2 separate regions of the Homo sapiens genome follow, and region 2 is linked to region 1. Evidence: promoter capture Hi-C in 16 types of primary human blood cells and fetal thymus (Javierre and others, 2016). All regions are on one chromosome and are shown on one strand. Each heading gives the region's core, a stretch centred on a gene start or on the middle of the fragment in contact. The rest is flanking DNA. Distances are from core to core; before and after follow the strand shown. Region 1 holds the start of LEKR1 (leucine, glutamate and lysine rich 1). Region 2 overlaps KCNAB1 (potassium voltage-gated channel subfamily A regulatory beta subunit 1).

What was found. The method cuts DNA at HindIII sites, captures the fragments that hold promoters and counts their contacts. A CHiCAGO score of 5 or more calls a contact.
Region 2: a fragment that was not itself captured here is called in contact with the fragment with the promoter of LEKR1 in region 1 in 2 of 17 cell types (total CD4 T cells and total B cells); the score reaches 7.8 in total CD4 T cells.

What each region holds. Positions count from the first base shown.
Region 1 is chr3:156,822,626-156,827,941 of GRCh38, reverse strand. It overlaps LEKR1 (leucine, glutamate and lysine rich 1), which reads right to left and starts at 1,589. Exons shown (of 13, transcript NM_001004316.3): 1 at 1,566-1,589. RefSeq lists a silencer at 448-742 and an enhancer at 1,057-1,116. The HindIII fragment of the contact is 11,302 bases long and covers 1-5,316 here.
Region 2 is chr3:156,151,705-156,157,590 of GRCh38, reverse strand. The region is part of intron 1 of KCNAB1 (potassium voltage-gated channel subfamily A regulatory beta subunit 1); the gene reads right to left. Among named protein-coding and RNA genes, the nearest start is that of KCNAB1, 34 kb to the right of the region's middle. The HindIII fragment of the contact is 4,316 bases long and covers 1,622-5,886 here.

The DNA.
Region 1 (5,316 bases), core at 340-2,839:
AATGAAATAGTAACTTCAACTCTATTGGGAGAATTTTCCAAAAAATTACCATCTAAACATCCTTTTAAAATTTCACCCATAAAGTTATCTGAGAGCACGGATCTAAATGACAGTATAAACAAAGCACCAGTAGAACAGTTTTTGTGTAGTGCCTTCATTGTCTGTGAATCTATTCCAACTTTATGGCCTTAGCATAAGAAGGGGAGGAATTGGCAGGTTCTGATTATCGGGGGGAAACTAAAAATTAAAAGTCCTGCCAACCCAGAAAATGCTCCACAATGCAGAAAGACAACAATTTTATTAGGCATTCAACTAGACTTTGATGCACATCACGGCTAATCTGCTAATGAGGTTACAAAGAGAGAAGGAAATCCCTCTTTTATACAGCCAAGGAGACACAATCCATTACACATTCTCAAGGAAACTGGTAACGTGTCCTCATGTAAGAGGGCTTAACATAGTGTTCTATACATTCTTTTATATTTCCTCTTTAATTCATCTGGTAATTGGGGTAACCACCTGTGTTAGCTAACGGCTTTCCTCCTAAGTAATGCACAGCTCCATAACGAAACAGGTGTTTACAATTAGGAATAACGCACCTAGGTTAAACTCCCAAAGTGACAAGGAGACTGGGGCCCTATCTTCCTTGATGTTTACATTTTAAAGAAATGGCTTCCAGGTCCTCAAGAAAAGCATTCCTAGGTCTTTAAAAACATTTGCATACATATTAAATAGAGGAAGCATTCACAAATACTAAGTTTCTCAAGAAAAAAGAAGGGTCTTTCCCTTTTGGCAACAGGGAAAATCTGTAATTTTTTAAATTTAGTCTTACATAGTTTTGCGTGTGTTATCAAACAAGTCCCTTTAATCCTTTCTCATTGCACGTATGTGGACCGCACTTTGGCAAGAGGTGCAGTGATAAGTGGCTGCAGCTACGTGGGTGTTTGTGAACCTCCTCTCTAACAAGATCACCGAAAAGACATTTTTTAAAATGCAGACACGTCCTTGTTCGTTTCCAATTCCGTTTCTCACACTAGTGTCACGTCAGGCCATTAACTCACGTTCAGCTTTCAAGCCCTTACGTAAAGAACCATTCCCATGGCGTGAATCACCCACAACGAGCAGGTCAGGGGCAGGTGAAGGCGGGAGTTCACATCCTAAGACTTTCCTGAAGCGGCAGGCTCTTCCACACAGAAACCAACCGCAAGGCCAGACAAAACTGCTGGAATGGCTTTCAAATCTGTCCCTTTCTAACCCCGTTCCCCCTGGACCTGCAGTGGCCGGAAGAGGAGGAGGAGGAGGGTGCGGGGGTGAGGAAGCAGAGCCGCGCGTTCCCCGGGGCTGGGAGGAAGGCGGACCGCGCCTGGGCCCCGCGGGCTGGCAGACACCAGGAAGGGGCCGCAGAGGAGCGTGGTGGCGGAGTCCAGACCCGGGGCCTCGTGCTCTCGCTGGGGCGCCGCGGCTCAGCTTTCTGGCTCTCTCCCCGGGTGCGAGCACGCCTCCACTCCGGAACTGCATTTGGAGGACCGGGTCATCCCAGGCTGAGGAAAGCCATCGTCCCTCACCTCGACTTCGACTAGGACGGGTGTGAAACGGCTTTCCCGGTCTCCCGGGCGACCGCGCCGCCAGTCGGCTGGACGTCAGGGCGCGGCGACGTCACGGCCCACGTCTGTCGTCAACGCTCCCCTGCACCGCCCAGGGTCTCACGCGCCGGGCGGAAGTGGGAAAACTGGTGGTGGGGCTCGGAAGGCTGGGCTAGTCTTACGCGGAATGCTGTGAGAGGGAGGGAAGGGGATCGAGGGATGAGGTGGGCGAGAGTGGGTCGGGTGCTTGGTAGCGACTGCTGAGATGGAGGGAGCTGTCCCAGCCTCGTGGGGGGTTGGAGAGAGGCACTGCCGGGAGTCGGGAGTCGGGAGCCTATAGCCCTACCTATCACCCCTTGCTCTGGGGCCTATGTGGTAGACACAGCAGTGAGCAGTTACTGTTCTTGAGCAGAGGAAAAAGAGATGCCTGTAGAGGTCATGGGTGTAAAGGGAAGTTCTGGTTTCAGTCATTACAGCCAGGACAAATTAATTGGGAAGGCGTTGGTGACATTTCCATTCTAGTCCAAAGTAGTGAAGATTAAGGGCTTAGTTCAAAAAGTATTTTGAGACCTCCTAGTCTACACTTTATTTATCGCAGGCTACCCACCCTTACACGTGACTAACTTCCCTTTGTTCATACATTCATTCATAAAACAAGTATTTATAGACCTACTACGCGACAAGCAGAGCAGCATACCGAGATAGGGTGATACTCTGTGACTGGTCAAGGCAGGAGCAGCCATTGGTGTAATTAGCAGGTGACTCATTCGTAGTCCAGATCTTGCCTTTCTGAGGATTATATAAGGTCGAAGTACAGTTCTTCCAAGAACCAAAGAAAACATCGATGGCTCTGTAGCAGGCAAAGAGACTGGTTTGCTATTGAATAAAATAAGATTAAGTAAATACAAAGAAAATTAATTGAACCTATAGATTTAGAGAAGTGATTAAATGACGCAGAGCAGTATCGGTACACCAAACTGCTTATTGATAACTACTAATTAATGACACCAGGAAGTACTGAACACTAGTGCCTTGTTCCTTGGCACTAAAAAGTCTAGTAGATGTGGCTGGGCGCGGTGGCTCGGGCCTGTAATTCCAGCACTTTGGGAGGCCAAGGCGGGCAGATCACAAGGTCAGGAGATCGAGATCATCCTGGCTAACACGGTGAAACCCCGTCTCTACTAAAAATACAAAAAAGTAGCCGGGCGTGGTGGCGGGCGCCTGTAGTCCCAGCTACTTGGGCTACTCGGGAGGCTGAGGCAGGAGAATGGCGTGAACCTGGGAGGCAGAGCTTACCCTGAGCCGAGATAATGCCACTGCACTCCAGCCTGGGCGACAGACCAAGACTCAGTCTCAAAAAAAAAAAAAAAAAAAAAAGTCTAGTAGATGTATCTTGTACATTTAACCTGACTGATATTTTTGCCCCAATGCCTACCCTTGATTTTCTGTTTCCACTCCCTCAAAGAAGAAAGGATTAAGAGGCCTAGAGGACAGTCAACCAAGTGGTCAACTATAACATGCTTATGAGAAGCCCAAATAACTTTCAGAGCTATTCATCCTCGTCATATTTATCTGAGAGATAGTGAGGGTAGGACTGCTCTCATTTTGTGATAATGGAAGTTTAGATACAGGGCACCAAAACTGGTACCTATCTGGGACAGGAATTTGCACACCTAATGCAAGATCACTCTGTTCTGAGGCTAGTTTTCTTTATTGAGTACTTTGTTTATAGGATAAGGAAAGGCAACACTTTAAGGATGGGAGAAAATCCAGCTCAAAGGCTGCAGTTCACTCCTTGGTTTAATTTCATCTGTGTTTATTTGTCTGCATATTGCCTTTGAGACCAATTTCCTTTCCACTGTAAATTTCCCTTAGACCTGCACTGTCCAGTAAGGTGGCCTCATGTAACTAATTTCACTAAAATGAAGTATGTTTAAAAATTCCATTGCTATATTGCATTAGCCATATTTTAAGTACTCAGTAGTCATGTAGGTAATGTATGATACACCATAGATACTGAACATTTTCATTATCATAGAAAGTTGGGCTGGGCGTGGTGGTTCATGCCTATAATCCCAGAGCTTTGGCAGGCTGAGGCAGGAGGATCTCTTGAAGCCAGGAGTTTGAGACTGGCCTGGGCAATATAGTGAGACTCTGTCACTATAAAAAAAAAAAAAATTAGCATGGTGTGGTGACACACACCTGTAGTCTTTACTCAGAAAGGCCTAGGTGAGAGGATCACTTGAGCCCAGGAATTTGAGGCTGCAGTCTATGATCTGGCCACTGCACTCCAGTCTAGGTGACAGAGCCCGACCCTGTCTCTTAAAAAAAGAAAACAAAGAAAAAGAAAGTTGGAAAGCAGTAGACCCCAGTAAGAATTTCAAAGGATAAGAGTTAAGTTGTGATGAATGACATTTTTTAAAGCGTAGCAGCAAAAAGTGTTATTCCTGAAAGAAGATAGTGCAAAGGAAGTGTTGTGACAAGATGTTACAAAATAGGTTTAAGAAAAAAAAAAAAGCCACGAATCCTGTGCCCTATGTTGGTGTTTTGTCTTGGTCTCTCCCTTTTCAGGTTTCTCACTTGCCCTCCCTCTGTCTTCCCACCCCATTACTGTCCATACTAGAATTGAAGTACAATTTAAAATAATCCCATCATTGGGCATATTAAATAAAGTTTTGGGTTACCCCATTAGTTTTTAATTGAGCTAATTTTCACTTTTTACTTCGACTTTTAAAAATTATCCAGTAATAGCCAAATTAAGCTGCTGTTAACTTCTTTTTATGACCCTTTATTCCCCGCTCCCAACCCCGTATTGTCAGTGATCCCTGGGGAAGGAAATGCTCTCAGTTTTTGGAATAGAGACGCTCTAAAGCGACTAACCTAGGGCTTTCCACATGGTCTGCAGAACTTTGTGTTGGTTTATGAGGACACAGTGTCTGTGCTTTTGTTACTGTTGTGAATTTACATAAAATATGTATCCAGCAGGGAAATGTCGTTCTTCACTTCAAAAAGTAGTTTTATGCTCCCTCCTTTGTTTCCTCCTCCCCCACCATGAAAAGCATGTAGAAGAGGTATGTTGCCTGCAATTCTGATAAAAATGTAGGAACTCTATCCAAGCGAGAGGCGACAGCGTGCTGGCAGTCCTCAGAGCCCTTGCTCGCTCTTGGCGCCTCCTCTGCCTGGGCTCCCACTTTAGTGGCACTTGAGGAACCCTTCAGCCCACTGCTGCACTGTGGGAGCCCCTTTCTGGGCTGGCCAAGGCCAGAGCTGGCTCCCTCAGCTTGCAGGGAGGTGTGGAGGGAGAGGGGCGAGCGGGAACTGGGGCTGCGCGCCGTGCTTGCGGGCCAGCTGGAGTTCCGGGTGGGCGTGGGCTTGGCAGGCCCCGCACTCGGAGCAGCCAGCCGGCCCTGCCAGCCACGGGCAATGAGGGGCTTAGCACCCAGGCCAGTGGCTGTGGAGGTTGTACTGGGTCCCCCCGCAGTGCCAGCCCACTGGCGCTGCACTCGATTTCTCGCTGGGCCTTAGCTGCCTTCCCGTGGAGCAGCGCTCGGGACCTGCAAGCCCGCCATGCCTGAGCCTCCCACCCCCTCCGTGGGCTCCTGTGCCGCCGGAGGCTCCCCAACAAGTGTCGCTCCCTGCTCCATGGCACCCAGTCCCATCGACCACCCAAGGGCTGAGGAGTGTGGGCTCACAGCGTGGGATTGGCAGGCAGCTCCTGTGCAGCCCCAGTGCG
Region 2 (5,886 bases), core at 2,530-5,029, 670 kb after region 1:
TAAATGCAATTTTATAACCTATAAAGGGACATTTCCAGTTGTCAAAACAAAGGGAGCACTATAATATAAAATATACCATAGAATAAGAGCACAATGTCTTTCTACTCTCAATCAGGGGGCAGAGATGCTGTTTCATGAGACAGATAACTTATGAGTATTATTTTTAATAATCCAGCTTTATAAGTATCATCATTTGTGGAAAACCTTTCTGTATTCTGCTCATAGGTAGGGCCAATTTCTTATGATTTTTTTCTATATGTTCATAAGTAGGAGGAAATTCAGAGATGCTGCTCAATGGATGGTAGTCAGAGTTCTGTTAAGTAGGAGTTCAGAATTAAATTTTAAAATGTTCCTACATGCATATATGGGTCTTTGCTTTCTCCTTTCAAGCATAGTGCTGTGTAGAAAGTAAGATACGTTTTTCTCTCTGCTCTTATAAATAGTGGCCTCCATGTTCCTACATCCAATGGTCTCTCTCAGTCCTCACCTTACTTGACCTAGCAGTAGTATTGAACATACTTGATCTTTCTCTCTTTTGTTTGATCCTGACACCCCACTATCTTGTCTCTCTCCTGCCTTTCTGCACACTCATTCTCAGTTTCCATTGCTGGTTCCTCTTCATCTCTCCTACCTCCTCACATTGGAGAGCCTAGGCTGTAGTCCTGGGGCTTTTGTTATAATCTCTCTCTACACTTACTTGCTTATCTCATGGCTTTATGTTCTCGCAATATACTGATGACTCCAAGATTTATATATTTATATTTATATTTTGAGCATGAATCTCCAGTCCATACCACTCCCATGAACTTCAAACTTTTATCAACTTGACACTGTTCTCTAATAGGCATTTAGACCCAACCTGTCTAAAAAGTAAGTTCCTACTCTTCTTCCCTCCAGATCCACTCCCCTGAAATCTTTCTCATCTAATTTAAGGGCAACTTGTTGGTCCCAATTGCCTGAGCTGAGAAGCTTAAAGTCATCTTTAAGTATTCCCTTTATTGCATATCATATCCATTTATTTTTCAAATCCTCCTGATGCTACTTTTATAACAGTTCCAGAATCCAACTACTTCTCACCATTTCCATTCTGGTTTAAGCTGCTGTTACCTCCTTCCTGGGCAATTATGGTAACTTCTTAACCAGTAACCCTACTTCTACTTTTCAGCCTATTTTCCAACATAGCATTCAGACAATCCTTTTAAAAAATAATTCAAATCATGTCACACCCTTGATCAGTATTCACAAAAGCTTCCATCTCACTCAGACTAGAAGCCACCACCTTTAAAATGGCCTACACATTTTTGTACAATGTGCCTATTGTGCAGTAAAGAATTAATCTTGCCCAAAGAAAAATCTAGCTCCTTGCCCCCAACTCCTGGGAGTTAACCTCTAAGCCCTTGGAATGCCCTACCCAATAAAAATGTCTTTGTTTATCTGGGGGCCTAAGGCCCTACGAGATAGTCTAGGCTAAGTATTTAATTTATGGTGGGAGTCTTGGGCCACATTGTATCAGCCTGAACTCCAGAGGGGCCAGAGACTAAGGTCAAACACACAGGTAGTCAGCCGTGTCTACATGGCCAAACCCAAATAAAAACTCTGGACACCAAGGTTCAGGTAAGCTTCCCAGTTCCTGAGAGAAATAAGCACTATCCACACAACTCCAGTGGGAAAGGACAATTGGAAGCTCCATTCCTGGTTCTCCTGGACCCAACCCTAGGTACCTCTTCCTGATGCTAATTTTAATCTGTATCTTTTTGCTGTAATAAACCACGACCATGAGCATAATGACTTTGCTGAGTTCTGTGAGTCCTTCTAGTGAATCACTGAACCTGAGAGCATTCTTGAGGACCTCCTGAACTTTCAATTCTCCCCTTTACCTTCTTGACATCATTTCTTACTATTCTACCATTCATTCACTCTGCCCTTGACACACTGGCTGTTTTTGTTTCTTTCTACAGACTTTCACACTGGGCTTTTGCATATACTGTTCCTTCTGTCTATAATACTCTTTACCCCGGAAACTTCAATGATTGTCATTTCTACCTCCTTCAGGTACTTATTCAAATGCTGTCTTCTCAGTGAGGCCTTCCTTGGCTATGTTATTTAAAATGGCAACTGCTCCCTGTCACAAATACTCATCCTCCTTCTGTGCTTTGTGTTTCTCCAGAGAATTTATGCTTCTAAAGTATTATAAATTTTATTTATTTATTTTTGTTCATTAACTGGCACGTCCCCACTAGAATTAAATCCTTTAAAAAGCAGAGAACTTAGCCTAAGTGTTCACTGCTGTATCTCCAATGCCTGGAATTGTGCATAACTCAAGGTGAGCACTCAATGGAGAGCTGTTGGATGAATCTGTGTGAGGGGTGGTGGCAGGGCAGGGGGGATAGGTAGATGGTTCAGTAAAAATAGATAGTGTACCAAAAACAGCGAGGCTTGACTAGTGGTCATACAAAATAGCTTTGTAAAGAGTGTCACCAATGTATCATATAATTTGTATTAGTAAATTTGGCTGCATGAACCTGTTTTTCCATCTTGTATAAGAATATGTTTTGGATTATCCAACAATTTAAATGAGACAGTCATGAGACATATTAGGGAAAATATTTAACCCATACAGGATCCAGAACCCAAGAAGTGGTGAACATTAGGTCAGAAATGGAAGGCCCTTGGAGAGGTACCTGTGAAGAAGGGGCAGAAAGAAGATAGCTGGATTCTGTCCACTGTAATGAGTCTCACCCAGGCTCCTGCAGGTAACCAACCCTCTGAAGTAGAAACGCATGACCCCTCCACTGCCATTGCCCAGTCCCAGCAGCACTGACTACCTTTGCTGAGTCAAATGGGCCAGGGTCTTGCCAAAGTGGTAGAGTAGGGCAGACTTAAGTAAGAAAACCCATGGATCTGATGATACCACCAAGGACCAGCCTGCAACTATTAATTACCAGTGAAAGAGTGTTTCAGTTGTAGGTCAAATAGTTGATGGGAAAGTCTGATCTATACCAAGAACAAGAAGTCTAACCAGAACCCACACTCATCCACAATTACTGAATAGACAGAAAATCCTCTGGCGCATTTATCTAGGAGGACGAGTCAGCTAGGAATCCCAACAGGTAAGCTAGCTCTCCACACTTGTCCCCCATAGTTCGGAGGATGACAACTGGCTGCTACAATGAGATGATGACCCCTCCTGTAATAAGATGGAAAGGCGAAATGAGGAAAAGAGTAAACTTAAAGAGGACTTGCCAGTGGGATTGAGGGACAACTGGTAGAAAGGGAAAGAAGAGCTAGCTGGTGGTGAGAGGAGTGGAGAAGGAGAGGCCCATGGCTCTGTAATATGAGTGTGTTAGACATCTGCACTACTATCTGCACTACTTCTGGTGACCTTAGTCAGACTGTAATCAGCTAAACCTCCCTCAGAAAGCACCACCTCTAAGTGGAAACAGGAATTCACACTGAGTGAAAGCAACGAGTGTCTCATTCTGGTCAAGGTAACTCAAGGCCCCACTATGAATAGGCCTGGGCAGCAACACATGGAGAACTTTTTTGGAGGAAAGTACAATGAGAAATCTATGTTACTTAGAGTTTTCCAGATAAACACAACTAACAGGAGATGGATAAATTCATAGATAAATGGATAGATAGGGATTGACTGATTAATTGATTGATTATAAGGAACTAGCTCATGCAACTGTGGAGGCTGAGAACTCCCAAGAATAGCAGTTGGCAAGTTGGAGATGCAAGAGAGCCAATAGTGTAATTCTGATCCAAATCTGAAGGCCTGAGATTCAGGTGGGTCAATGGTGTAAGTTTGGACCCAAAAGCCGGAAGGCTCAAGACTTGACTCAAGAAGAGCTGATGTTTCAGTTCAACTCTGAAAGCAGAAATAGACCGATGTCTCAGATCCAACAATCAGGCAGAAGGAATACCCTCCTACTTGTGAGAGGTCAGCGTTTTTGTTCAACTTCAAATGACTGGATGACGCCCAACCACAGTGGGGAGGGCAGTCTGCTTTACTCAGTCCACCAATTCCAATGTTAATTTCATGCAAAAACACCTTCACAGACACACACAGAATAGTGTTTGACCAAATGTCTGGGCACCCTGTGGCCCAGTCAAACTGACACAAAATTAATCATCACAAACTTAATGAATGATTGAAGTAAATGAGCAAATTAAGGTTAAACAAAATGGATATCTCAGAAGAAACAAACATACAGTGGGCTATGCCATGATGAGCATGATATGGTCACCTCAAAGCATCTTAAAATCCAAGATTTAAGGACCTATTTCCTACGAGAACAATGTCATCCTCAAGTATCACTATCTCAAATAAGGATACTTGGATTTTTGGTAAAGAGAGAAAGTTAGGAAGTGAGCGCTGGGGAGACTATGGATCCTGGTGAAGTGGTGCCCTGTGACTGATATCCAGCGGCTTGTCCTCCAGTGAACATTGAAGGTTTATTTGTTAGACTCCTGCTTAATAATTTATTTATTCAGCAAATATTTATTGAGCTCTACACTAGATGTCAGATTCTGGGAATGCAGTAATTAACTATACAGATAAAATCCCTGCCCTTTTGGAATTCACATTCCAGTGAGAGAGACAGACAATACAGAAATAAACAAATAAGTGCGCCAAAAGGAAAAATAGAGGTAGAGGAAGAAAGTGCTAGCATGGAATGTTACAAAGAAGTTACAACGAGAGTTAACCTTTTGGGAAGTTACGTATAAAGGTGCCCATCTTATACAATGGTCATCTCTGGAAGTAATCATAGCTCTGTTTTGAAACCGTAACTAGCTTCTAGAGGCATGTATTGTCACTATGCACTGAGTTATAGAGTGCCGTAAAATTCCAAAAGCAGGGTGAATCACTGACCTGTTACAAACCCTTCAAATGCTAAACGGAGAGCTTGGATACTTAATGAGCTGCACATTTTACACCCACACTCTACAATTGTCAGAGCTTCTATCTCATCTGCCTTAGCAAATTAAGAGGAATATCATGAAGGAGAAAATGACAGAAGACAATTGGGTCAAAATCCATTGTCTAAAAATGTTCCATCTAGCCCATTGAGAACCTGCATCTTTCTGAAAGCTCCCACCCCTCCCACAGTGGGTTCACCAGAAGCTAAGGCCAGAATCCATACTCCCGTCACTCTGAATCCAGCTGGTATCAGGCCTCTCCTTCGGCTGCCACTTCAGCCTCTTGGGATGGTTTCCTAACCCAGCTCATTTATGGGCACCTGACTTAGGGGCTAGACAATCCTGAGGTAACCGTGTCTGTGGTCCATCAGTGCTCAGAGGGCCTTACCCCTCTTAACGCCTGGTGACTCCCTTTTAACACACCTACCACTAACACCCACCCTCAGGGGATGTGCTGAGCACAGGGACACAGGGGACCGGATTTATGTAGGCTAATAAGGTCAGCAGGCCTATGAGATCCCTCAGCTTTGGGCCTAAAGTTCCAGAAGAAAACGTGGTAACCCTCGCTGGGTAGCTGTGGGAGACACAGTCGTTGTCAGGGACACGGTAACAATATCCAGGAGACCTTCCTGCAGGCATAACAATTGTGTGGCACCACAGCGCCACCTCCCAACCCAAGGCGGACTTGCAATTAGTCATAGTCTTTCCTTTGACCTCCTTCCTATACTAAAATTAATTTCTCCTGAACTGTTCCAGATTGAAGGAGACCTAAAAGATATGACAACAAAATATTGCCATCCAATACTGATCCTGTACAACTGGAGTAAAAAAATGCCACAAAGAGCATTATTGTGTCAGCTGACAAAATTAGAATACAATGGTAGATTAAAATATCATATTTATGTAAATTTTACCAAAGTTGTTAATTGTATTGGGGATAAGAAAATATCATAACTATTAAGA